3 separate regions of the Homo sapiens genome follow, and all the other regions are linked to region 2. The links are contacts of gene promoters, found by promoter capture Hi-C in blood cells and fetal thymus (Javierre and others, 2016). All regions are on one chromosome and are shown on one strand. The core of a region is centred on a gene start or on the middle of the fragment in contact, and the rest is flanking DNA. Distances in the headings are between cores, read along the strand shown. Region 1 overlaps LRRK2 (leucine rich repeat kinase 2). Region 2 holds the start of ABCD2 (ATP binding cassette subfamily D member 2). Region 3 overlaps LRRK2-DT (LRRK2 divergent transcript).

What was found. Contacts are between HindIII fragments. The CHiCAGO score rates a contact against its expected background, and 5 or more counts as called.
Region 1: a fragment that was not itself captured here is called in contact with the fragment with the promoter of ABCD2 in region 2 in 1 of 17 cell types (total B cells); the score reaches 5.6 in total B cells.
Region 3: a fragment that was not itself captured here is called in contact with the fragment with the promoter of ABCD2 in region 2 in 2 of 17 cell types (total CD4 T cells and naive CD4 T cells); the score reaches 8.6 in total CD4 T cells.

What each region holds. Positions count from the first base shown.
Region 1 is chr12:40,317,607-40,321,609 of GRCh38, reverse strand. It overlaps LRRK2 (leucine rich repeat kinase 2), which reads right to left. Exons shown (of 51, transcript NM_198578.4): 34 at 1,435-1,622; 35 at 422-576. Among named protein-coding and RNA genes, the nearest start is that of MUC19, 74 kb to the left of the region's middle. The HindIII fragment of the contact is 4,455 bases long and covers 1-3,966 here.
Region 2 is chr12:39,617,312-39,621,795 of GRCh38, reverse strand. ABCD2 (ATP binding cassette subfamily D member 2) reads left to right here and starts at 1,993. Exons shown (of 10, transcript NM_005164.4): 1 at 1,993-3,119. The coding sequence starts at 2,181. RefSeq lists enhancers at 373-452, 1,682-2,201, 2,512-2,591. The HindIII fragment of the contact is 3,952 bases long and covers 712-4,484 here.
Region 3 is chr12:40,143,527-40,147,658 of GRCh38, reverse strand. It overlaps LRRK2-DT (LRRK2 divergent transcript), which reads left to right. Exons shown (of 9, transcript NR_186757.1): 8 at 3,355-3,624. Among named protein-coding and RNA genes, the nearest start is that of LINC02471, 11 kb to the left of the region's middle. The HindIII fragment of the contact is 1,238 bases long and covers 1,610-2,847 here.

The sequences.
Region 1 (4,003 bases), core at 490-2,989, 700 kb before region 2:
TTAATCCCCAAAATGATATTTTCCCTTTGGAGTACCAAAATGTCTCTATTTATTTTAGAAGAAAGAGTTAGCATTATAAACACCGGATTTGCTCTTTTTTTGTAAATGTCTTAGTGGCTGTGCAACAGAAAAGAGATAATTACAGTCCCTACAATGTAATCACAGTCAAGATCTGAGTGAGCACCTAAGGAATTTTCTTCCTGACAAATTAGATGAGGTTATATGTGCTTGTGTGTCTTTAGATTGCCTACTCCAAGGTTTTATGAGCTTATTTTCTAATTCTTCAGCTGCCTTCCAAACAAGTAAACTCTGAGAAAATGGCATATTACTTTTCATATGCCATCTCCCTAATTTCTCTAAAAATTAATAAGTCTAAATTAATAGTCTCTAAAAATCTAATAAGTCTTCATTAGATACTTACCTCTCCCTGAAAGCATGTAAGGTGAAATCTCAAGTAATCGATTGATTAATCTTGACCAAAATCCCATTGGAAAATAAGGCATTTCATATAGTCGGATGATAATTTCAGAGTTCTCACAATGGGGAAGCTCTATCACAGGCCTGTGGTCAGACAAACTAAAGGCAAAAGGACACTATGGTTATACAGCCTCACAAAACACCCAACCTTGTTGAGCAAATGATTTTACTGCTTAAAGTCAATGAAGGTAATCATTCCAAACAATTGTAATCTTTTTGTAACATTGTTTCACTACATATTTTTCCTACACCAAAAATTCAGTGGTCAATAACCAATTCAAATGCATGCTCAGATGTAGATGCATGAAATATTTTCGGTAATCCCTGTGCACTAATACATAAATTATTACAATTAGTTATGCATAGACAAATGTAATCTTATATAAATCCTGAAAAATACATGTCCTAGAAAAAAAGTGTATATTTATTTTTAAAATTGGCTGCATCCATCAATCAATGTAATTTGCACATTTCAACATCATATTACTTTATAAATTTCCCAGTTGCTTAGAGCAGTAGGAAAAATTTCCATAGTATAGGCTAAAACATAGGCATCCATTGTGATGCCATAAATGCTTTTAAAATTCTGTTGAAAACTCACTATCTTCTCAGAACTTGCTTAATAAACTCTCTCAGTGTTGTTTAAGAACACACACATACACAAACACAGACACACACACACATTAATCTCCACTATTTACCTTTCTTAAATAATTTCAACAGTGATAAGCCAACTAGTAACTATACACATAAAGTAAGTGATTTACTATATTGTTAAAGTGTCAGATGCAATGTTTTATTCCAAAATAAATGATACATGTCAGTAGGAGGTTTACACTAGAAGCAAAATATATTTATTTATTTAATACATCTATTATAGACTACAGTTAGTTTGACAATTAAAAGAATAGATAGTGAATTTCCATGTAGCAATTAATTTTTTAAGGTTTTCTTTACCTGCTTGGAACCAGCAAATATTCTTCTCCTATTGGCAAAGCAATCTGGAATTTTTCTAGGAGCTTAAAATACTGTGACATGTAGTTCTTTGGAAATTTCCTTTTTTTTGAAAGAAATTTTTCCACATCTCTACGCGAAATAATGCCCTTAGGGTGTTTTGGACAACCTTCCACTTTCACTGTCAAAATCTGAAAGATTCGAGTCATAAATAATCACTAAAATTTATTTTCTGAAATGTTGCAAATTTAAAGCATTTTATGTCTCTTTGCTCAGTGAAAGTAGTCAGAAAGATTTTAGTGTTTTCAAGTGCAACACAGTACCTAATTTCTCTAGCAACCATGTGGCCTAGAAGCCCAGAGGGGCATTCACTCTCAAAAAAAAAAAAAAAATTGTTAAATTAAGGGAGTTAATTCGGATAGGAAATCATTGAACTTCACTGAAACAATGAACATCAGTATTTCCCTAGCTACAATGGAAAGATCAATCCAATACCTCACATCTGTTTTGCAGTCTCATCAATAATATATTCCCAGGAAAATTATCTTCCAGACAGTTATCAATACAGGTTTGAAATAGAAATATTACTTCACATTTATATACTAGGAGAGGACTTCCATGAATAGGAAGACAGACTGTGTAGCAGAGTTTCATGATTCTCAAAGTAACTACTGCATTTTGATGGATTCTACTTGCAGTGTCTGGGTCAGTAGGTCTGGGTTGAGGCCTGAGAATCGGCTTTTTTAAAGAGCAACCCCGATGTTTCTAACACAGAGATCACACTTTGAGCTTTGATCCTTGTCATGGCAGTTAAAAATCAGTCAGAACCCAGATTCAAATCCAGGCTCTACTACTAGCTCTGTAACCTTGGGAAAGGTATTTGATTTCTTTACTGCACAGCTTTCTTCTCTATAAAATGAGATAATAAAAGTGACTGTCTTAGATTGCCCTGAGAATGAAATAACACATGTAAAGTACGCAAAGTACATATGACAAATTTTAGCATATTTATCTATATATTCCAATTTATTTTGCTTTGTCAAATTCACTTTAAAAAGAGGTTTGTATTTAATTTTCTTTGGGAGATCTATAATGTTTAAGGAATACTTAAACAGAAGCAAACATTATTTATGCTATCATGTAGTTGAGTGAAATACCAGGTTATAAAGTCCTTAGGCCCAAGGACTTGTCTTACCCATTTCTGTATTTCTATTTTGTATGTACAGTATTTATTGAATCAATGAATGCATGGTTGATTGAACATATTGGTATTTAATGACAGTGTGCAATGGGCCTATAAATAATAAAAACTGTTGTTTAAGACTTCTCCCATGTTGTGTACTTTATAGCAATTCCAGATCGCTCTTACAGTTTAGGTGGTAAAGAGAATTGTTTGCTGTTTTAGTGTTTTTTAAGTGCTAAGACCTTTTTTGACAATTCATCTCCAACTGCACTTCATATTTTCTTTGTAGCACTCTGTACCACTCAACATATTATATGTTTATTTATTACTTCTCTTCTCTCATTTGAATATCAGCCCTATGAATGTATAAACTCATAGGCCCTGGAGTCAAACTACTTGGTTTGAAATTCTAACTCTACCTCTTCCTGAATGTGTACCGTTGGATAAATTATTCAACCTCTCTGTCAATCAATTTCTTCATCTGTATCATAGGGGCTAATAAAGTACCATTTGGAAAGGTTGCTGTGAGAATTACATGAGCTAATCTTTGAAAAGCACATATTAACCTCATGTATGTTAGCCATTATTATCTAGTTATTCTAATCTATTTTACTAAGATACACTTATTTTTTAAAGAGTTTGTGCTTGATTTTCCTAGTGGATCTATAGCGTGCTACCACTATTTATAGTGGAAGTTTCCAAAGATGGACACATCATTTCCATCCCTATACATAGGTGCTATTCATATAGAGTCTCTTTTCCTTCCCCTTTAATCTGAGCTAGGTTTGTGGTTGCTCTGGTTACTAGAATGTAGCAGAATTAATATTTTTGCCAGTCCTTGGCCTAGCCTTTAAGAGGACAGAAAAAATCTGCTTCATTTCTCTTGGTAACCAGCCACCATGAAAGATGTCTAATTATTCTGTGATCACCGTGCCACGAGGAAGCCCAACTTAGCCATATGATAGGCCACATGGAGAAGCACCAATACTCCAAAAACATGCATGTACCTTTCTTGCACTTTCCAGCTCAGTTTAATGAATGAAGCCAAGTGAATAACCCTTGCCAATACCATGTGGAGCAGAACCACGCAGCTGAGCCCAGTCAAGCCACAGAAGAACGAGAAATGATAAATTGTTCACATTTTAAGCCTCCAAGTTTCGAGGGGGTTTGTTACATAAGAATAAAATCTGCAACATTATCTTGACTTTATCACCTTTAAAAGAGCTCCTAACATTCCTTCAACCTCATAACCTGAATAGCTAACTGATGCCTTATTCAAGGAAAGAGAATTTTCCAAATTCCTTTGTATTTCTCCCATGTATTTTTATCAAGGTTAAATTGCCATGTAAGCTTTTTAATGTTCCACCTGATTAATTGAATAGGTCTCTT
Region 2 (4,484 bases), core at 744-3,243:
CACTTTAAAAATGTAAAAATCATTCCTAGCTTAAGGGTCATATAAAATTAAGTGGCAGGCTAGATTTGGCCCACCAGTTGTAATTTGCCAACTTCTGTTCTAGCTTGATGCATATTTTCCTAAGCTTTTAATTGACTGGAAATGTGTATGTATGTTGGGGGCCAGCTGCTGGTGAACAAAACTGGCTGTAGCTACTGAGCATACTCAGTGTCACTTAGAAATCCCCAGAAGTTTCAGAATATATATCACTTTTGTAAGATTTCAGTAGATACCACAAGCAGAAGAGCAAGCAGAAAGGGAGATTTCCGAGAATTTTAATGAGATGGGGGGCGGGGACAGTGAAGAGCAAAAAAAATGGTTTTTCCATATCCAAAAATATACTCAGCCCTGACTTAAAAAATGCTCTTGGCTGGGCGTGGTGGCCCACGTCTATAATCCGAGCACTTTGGGAGGCTAAGGCAGGTGGATCACTTGAGGCCAGGAGGTTGAGACCAGCCTGGCAAACATGGCAAAACCCATCTCTACTAAAACTACAGAAATTAGCCAAGTATGGTAGGCGCACCCTCGTAATCCCAGCTACTCGGGCTGCTGAGGCACCAACCTGGGAGGCGGAGGCTGCAGTGAGCTGAGATCGTGCCACTGCACTCCAGCCTGGGTGACAGAGAGAGACTCTGTCTCATAAAAAAAAAAAAAAAAAAAAAAAAAAAAGCTTTTTACATTTTCAAAAATATGCAGAATTGTCCTTGACTGTTGAACAATTTAAATCCTCCATTATGGATGTGAAGAATTTTAAGACTCTTAGTTTTTATCAAATAACCAAATGGAAATAGGAAGTAGCCAGTAGATTATCTCTACAGCTAAACAAAACAAACAAAGCAGAAACCTGCAAAAGACAAAGCATTCTTGAAAAATGAAGTAAGGTCCTAGAGAAGCTATTTCCACCATCCAACACCAGCTGAATTCCCAAATGGTTAAACTTTCACTATAAGTGCTACCCCACTCCAAGTAAAAACTACCTAACACATGGGAGTAGTAAACATGAAACATTGCTCTCATTTATTTAATAGTCGTCACCTTGTAAATAAATATGAGTACATCAGATCTCCAGTTATGGGGCTGGAAGATTTTTAGCATAAGGACAAGTAGGATGCAGAGGAAAAAGGGAGAATGGCTAGAGGCATAGCAAATAATTATTTTCTGTAACACGGAAGACTTTTATCCTATTTATTTACAAGGGAAACCCTCGATTACAACTTGTCTATTAGGTTCTGAGACCTTTTGTGAAATCAGACCCCCAAAAAAGCCGGGGGGATCTGTGAAAAACAGATCCAAGTGTATTTGATATTTGGCATTCTCCGGTGTCCCTCCCACTTGTCACTTTCTTTTCTGATCCGTTTCAGATTCATTCCATATCCTTTTCATATTCATTTTATGTTGATCCTCTTGTCCCTCCTCCCTCATTTTCGTGGTTCCTTCTCCCTCCTCGTCTCATTAAAACTCTTGCAAATCTCCCTTTCTGCTTGCTCTTCTGTTTGCGGTAGCTGCTGAAATCTTACCGAAGTGATGTATATTCTGAAACTTCTGCGGGTTTCTAAGTGACATTGAGCATGCTCAGTAGCTAGGGCCGGTTTTGTTCGCTTGGAAATCTCCCTTTCTGCTTGCTCTTCTGTTTGCGGTATCTACTGAAATCTTACCGAAGTGATGTATATTCTGAAACTTCTGTGGGTTTCTAAGTGACACTGAGCATGCTCAGTAGCTAGAGCCGGTTTTGTTCGCCAGCAGATGGCCTGATTCGACCTCTCCAAAAATAGACATTTTAACTCTCTGAACTCCTGTTTAAGGAAGGATGTAATTCGCTTTGCTCTCTCCTCATTTTCAAGGTTCAAAGGGAAGCTGCGAGGATTCCAAGGTCCCACCGCCCTCACAGCCAATGAGGGGCCTGGGAGGGAGGAGCTTGGTGCAGCTTGAGCTTCTGAGAGAATCATTCCCGGTAGATGCAGCGGAGTCTGAGCTCTGCTGCATCTGTCACAGCAGAACAAAATTAAAAACACAACAGTGGAAGAGAAACGCTGCAGACTATGGGACGCTGTAGGACTTTCTAAAACATTTGCTGGGGATTTCTGTGAAGCATGATCTTTTAAAACGAATTCTTTTGGAAGCCGGTTTGGGTAACTGGGAAAATGACACATATGCTAAATGCAGCAGCTGATCGAGTGAAATGGACCAGATCGAGTGCTGCTAAGAGGGCTGCCTGCCTGGTGGCTGCGGCATATGCTCTGAAAACCCTCTATCCCATCATTGGCAAGCGTTTAAAGCAATCTGGCCACGGGAAGAAAAAAGCAGCAGCTTACCCTGCTGCAGAGAACACAGAAATACTGCATTGCACCGAGACCATTTGTGAAAAACCTTCGCCTGGAGTGAATGCAGATTTCTTCAAACAGCTACTAGAACTTCGGAAAATTTTGTTTCCAAAACTTGTGACCACTGAAACAGGGTGGCTCTGCCTGCACTCAGTGGCTCTAATCTCAAGAACCTTTCTTTCTATCTATGTGGCTGGTCTGGATGGAAAAATCGTGAAAAGCATTGTGGAAAAGAAGCCTCGGACTTTCATCATCAAATTAATCAAGTGGCTTATGATTGCCATCCCTGCTACCTTCGTCAACAGTGCAATAAGGTACCTGGAATGCAAATTGGCTTTGGCCTTCAGAACTCGCCTAGTAGACCACGCCTATGAAACCTATTTTACAAATCAGACTTATTATAAAGTGATCAATATGGATGGGAGGCTGGCAAACCCTGACCAATCTCTTACGGAGGATATTATGATGTTCTCCCAATCTGTGGCTCACTTGTATTCCAATCTGACCAAACCTATTTTAGATGTAATGCTGACCTCCTATACACTCATTCAAACTGCTACATCCAGAGGAGCAAGCCCAATTGGGCCCACCCTACTAGCAGGACTTGTGGTGTATGCCACTGCTAAAGTGTTAAAAGCCTGTTCTCCCAAATTTGGCAAACTGGTGGCAGAGGAAGCACATAGAAAAGGCTATTTGCGGTATGTGCACTCGAGAATTATAGCCAATGTAGAAGAAATTGCCTTTTACAGAGGACATAAGGTAAGATAGAAATTAAGGTGATGGGTGAAATGTGAAACTGTTCAAGTTGCCACTGCAGTGCCAGATACCATCTGTTGTCCTGTCGATGGACCCACTTCTTTAGTGTCTTAGATTCCTCTGACATCTAAACCTGAATTAAAATATATGCTTCATTACCCCTTTTAACTGTAACCAGTTAAAGGATTATAGGGTGCAAACTTTTCTAAAGTTTCAGAAGAATAAAATTTGCAACACTCTAAAAAAGTCTACTTAGCCTCAGTTACTCAAATATGCTCAGAATTATTTCTAACGCATTTTCTTAAAACTTAAATCCCAACTTGGTAGGTCATCCTAAAGCACCTACCAGAAGAAAATATATATTTAGAAACTAAGACTAAACATATTTCCACTGAAATGGAAAATTTAGAATGATATTCTTTGTTGTTCCTTTGTTGTCCAAGAGGGGGGAAGAGCCAGGGTTTCTTATAGAAGACATTTTTAACAATTTTGCATGTCTGATCAATATGGAGCATCCCCATTCCCAAGAAGCGTAGGAGAGTGTCTCACAAAATGGCATTTCTACTACTCTTAGTTCATGTTCAGCACTGTACTTTGACAAAATGAAAAGAGGAAGTGAAATGAAATTTTGTCTAGCTTTGAAAAAAAAAAAAAGCTGAAATTAGAGAAGAAATGAGGAGTACAAAAGGAGTTTCAGAATGTTTTTAATTATTAAAGATTTTCAACATTAAGCAGATCCCTAAAACAATTAGCCCAATTATACATACTAACAGTGCATGAAGGTAACTTCAGAATATGAAATGACAGAAATTTTGAAGGCAATGCAATCTTAATTTAAATGACTTGGTGAATAAAATAAAGTATTCTACTGTTGAAGATGGCATGTCAATCACCAAGCAGAATTATTTAATTTTTAAAGCATCTGTAATTATCAGTGTCTTTAATAGCAGTAGCAACCTGAAAAATAATATTTAAAGTAAATTTAGGAATCCTACTCCCACTTGAAAATTGACCTCATATATTGTATTATATCATATTGATTTGTGATTCTTCTTGAACTATTGAATTCAATGATATAAATTATAGTGTGCTTAGACTTCTTGCATAAAAGACAAAATCCAACAAATTGAGTCAGTTCAAAAGTGGAGTCTATACATATATATGTCATGTGTCCATTTTCAGATATTTTTGGTGTAATCAACAAGGACAAAGCTCTAATAATTGTTTATTCATGTCTCATATAATATCATTTAATTTTAACATCTCATACATAAAATTTAAATATCATAACTATAAATTACTTATATGTATTTTATACCTAACATTATGTCCACTGAGTAGCATAAACTTTTAAAAATAATACACATG
Region 3 (4,132 bases), core at 979-3,478, 530 kb before region 2:
TCTCGCTGCTACCTCACCGCAGATTGACCCAGGCCTCCTACTGTCTCTTTGGTTCCTTATTTATCTTCCCACTTCTATCTCACCACTTCCCTGTCCTTCCCTCCATGAGTTGACTTCTAAGAACTCCAAATTCAGCAGAGAAATTCACTTTGTCTTCCCCCAAGTACCCTAAAAGACAGAGCCTAACCAAAAGGTCTGCAGTGCTGTTTTATCAGGAAGTGAAAGCCCAGGGAAGCAAGAATGAGGTAAAGAGCAAAGTGAAGCAGGGAAGGAAGAAAAGAAAATAGGAGATGGTGCATTACGGAACTGGCCATAGTTTCACAAGAAAAGATAGCTCAGTATCACAGGACAGGTGGAAGTTTTTGCATCTCCAAGCAGCTGGGGGAGAAAGGCAGAAAAATATATCTGCAGGACCCTTTCGATCTCGGGTCTCTCATCGGTCAGTTTCCTTCCAACAGGACATTAACTCCTCTTTACTTGTGGTTTTAAACACTTGTATTTCTCATCAAATAAATATGTAATAACTTTACTTGATTCCTGGATACACTCAAATGATACATTCTCCTTCAGAATTTTTTTTTAGAGACGGGGTCTCACTCTGTCGCCCAGGCTGGAGTGCAGTCATGGCTCACTGCAATCTTAAGGGAGCCTCCAGAGTAGCTGGAGCTACAGGCATGCGCCACCACGCATGGCTCTCCAGGATTTTAATCAGCAAACTCACTGGCAGCTATCTGTTATTTCAAAAAACCTCTTGCCAGTGTCCTACATGTCCTACATTTTTCTGCTATGTTGTCCTCTTGTTTGAACCTGCTGGGGGGAAAAAATATATATATATATAAATATATATTTATATGTATATATTTATATATATTTATATATATATATTTATATATATATTTATATATATATTTATATATATATTTATATATATATTTATATATATATTTATATATATATTTATATATATTTATATATATTTATATATATATTTATATATATATTTATATATATACTTATATATATTTATATATATTTATATATATACTTATATATATTTATATATATTTATATATATATTTATATATATACTTATATATATTTATATATTTATATACATACTTATATATATTTATATATATTTATATATATATTTATATATATTTATATATATTTATATGTATTTATATATACATTTATATATATTCATATATATTTATATATATATATTTATATATATATTTATATATATTTATATATATATTTATATATATTTATATATATATTTATATATATATTTATATATATTTATATATATATTTATATATATATATATATTTTATATATTTATATATATATATTTATATATATATTTTATATATATTTATATATATTTATATATATTTTATATATATTTATATATATATATATATGCTAGCACTGAGCTAGCTGGAGAAAGTGGTACAACTGGGAATTCTGTCCATAAATTCACTAACCTTAGCTAGGCTTTGAACACTGCCCAACCGTGCTGCTTTATTTCCTTCCCTACTTGCTCTCCTGTTCTGTATACAATTTTTAATCTTCACTCTCCTTAAACCTAAAGCCCCAAGCTTTCCCCTCACCCCCAGGAGATGACTTTACCACCTACTTCACAAGGAACATGAGAGCCATTAAGTAGACATTCCATCATATTCCTATCACCCAATTTTCTTTTTTCTTTTTTTCTTTTTTTTTCTTTTTCTTTTTCTTTTTTTTTTTTTTTTTTTTTTTGTTTGTTTGTTTGAGACGGAATCTCACTTTGTCTCCCAGGCTGGAGTACAGTGGCGCCATCTCTGCTCACTGCAAGCTCTGCCTCCCGGGTTCACACCATTCTCCTGCCTCAGCCTCCGGAGTAGCTGGGACTACAGGCGCCCGCCACCACGCCCAGCTAATTTTTTGTATTTTTAGTAGAGACGGGGTTTCACCTTGTTAGCCAGGATGGCCTCGATCTGCTCACCTTGTGATCTGCCTGCCTTGTCCTCCCAAAGTGCTGGGATTACAGGCGTGAGCCACCATGCCCGGTCCCCAATTTTCAAATCTACTTGCATCCTTAGTAGCAACGACAGAGCCTGGCATGGAAGGGATAATAGTAAATATTTACTGAATAAATGCATATCCATCCTTACCTCCTGCATCATGTGTAATGAAGAAATCCTTTCCTTTGTCTCCATATTCTTTTTCATTTGCCTTTCAGGAATCTCACACTACTCATTTTTTTACTCTCTCCTAGAGTCTTTATCCTCCCCCCTCTTTATGGGTTACTTCTCATGTGCATTTAAGTATGTTATAACGTCTCTAAATTAAAAAAAAATTCCTGCAGACTTACTCCCACCCTTCCACAGCTGTATGATATTCCATTGTATCCTACAATTTGTCCATTCTTTTGTTGGTTGTTTGAGTTATTTTTAGTTTTTTGTTAATACAGTGTTTCTACAAACATATGTAGTATTTTCTCCAGAAGAGGAATTGCTGGATAATTGGATATGCACAAACTCAACTATGGCACATGACGCCAAATTGTGATTCAAAACGGTTGGACCATTTACACTCATGCTGGCCATGTGGAAGGTTTTCCATTGTTCCACGTCATCATAGTCTCAGAATGTTTTTTAATTAATTAATTTAAAAATTTTTTTCTCTTTTTCTTTTTGTTTTGTTTTGTTTTGTTTCACATTTCTTAAGTTTTGCAAATCAAATGGGTGTTTAATGGTATCACAGTTTGGCTTTACTTTGCATTTCCCTGGTTACTAATGAAACTGTCCGTCTTTTAATATAGACCATTCCTCTTTCTTCTTTTAGGAACTTAAAGCTTTTGCTCATTTTTCTTTTGTATCATTTATCTTTTTAGTGTTGGTTTGAATTTCTTTCTATAGTCTGGATATTAACAATTTTAAATCATATTTGCTGCAAATATGGTATTTGTGATTTGATTCCTACTTTATGCTGTTTTGTTGTTAAATAGATGAACTTATTCTTAATATAGTTGAATTAAATAGTCTTTTTCTTTGTAATTTGAGTATTTTGCTTCTTTGAGAAGTCTTTGCTCTGAAATCATAAAGATTTTCTTATAGATTGTCTTATAAAGTGTTATAGAATTCTCTCATCTACCTATAATTAATTATGTGATAACCAGCTTCCAAGATGGCACCAATAATCCCTGCCCCGGATATTCATACCCTTGTCTGTGGTATCCCCACTTACTGAATAAGGCTGACCTGTATAATAAATAAGATATGCAAAAATGATGGTGTTAGATCTCTGAGCCTAGATAACAAAAGGCATTGTAATTTCCACCTGTCCTCTCTTTTTTATTTCTAGCTATGAGGGAAGCCAACTTCTGTGTCATGAGGACATTCAAGCAGCACTATGGAGCCATCCATGTGGCTAGGAGCTGAAACTGAGCCAAGAAGCAGTGAGGAACTGGCTGGTAACAGCCATGTGGGTAAAAGCCATCTGAGAAGTGCATGCTCTAGTCTCAGTCAAGCCTTCAGAAGACTGTGGCACCTGACATCTCCACTGCAACCTCATTAGAAACTCAAGACAGAACTGCCAGAGAAGCTCTTCCTGAATTTCTGACCTACAGAAACGGTGTCAAAAAGATATTTATTATTGTTTTGAGCCCTAAGTTTTTGGAGTGACTTGTTGCTCCAAATATATTAGATAATATATTATATATGTAAGGTAACATTTCAGTTTTGACATTTTCACATGCATGATCAGTTATTTCAGCACTATTTAAAAATTTCTTTCTATCTTCTGTTATCAGCAAGATCAGCTGTGTCATAAATTAAGTTTCCAATTATATGTAGATTTGATTCTGGACTCTTTATTCTGTTTCACAGGTCACGTTGCTTATTCTTGAGTGAATACTTCATTATTTAATTATTATATATATATATTTGATAAGGCATACAGTTTGCTATAGTCTTACCTATTTTTAAACCTTTGGTCTTTTATATCCTTAGAATCACCTTGACATTCTTTACAAGAAAATCCATCGGGTTTTGAGTGGAATTACACTGAGTATAAGTACCAGTTGGGGAAAAATTGACATCTTTAGTATGTCGAATCTTTTAATCCATTTGTAATCCATGCT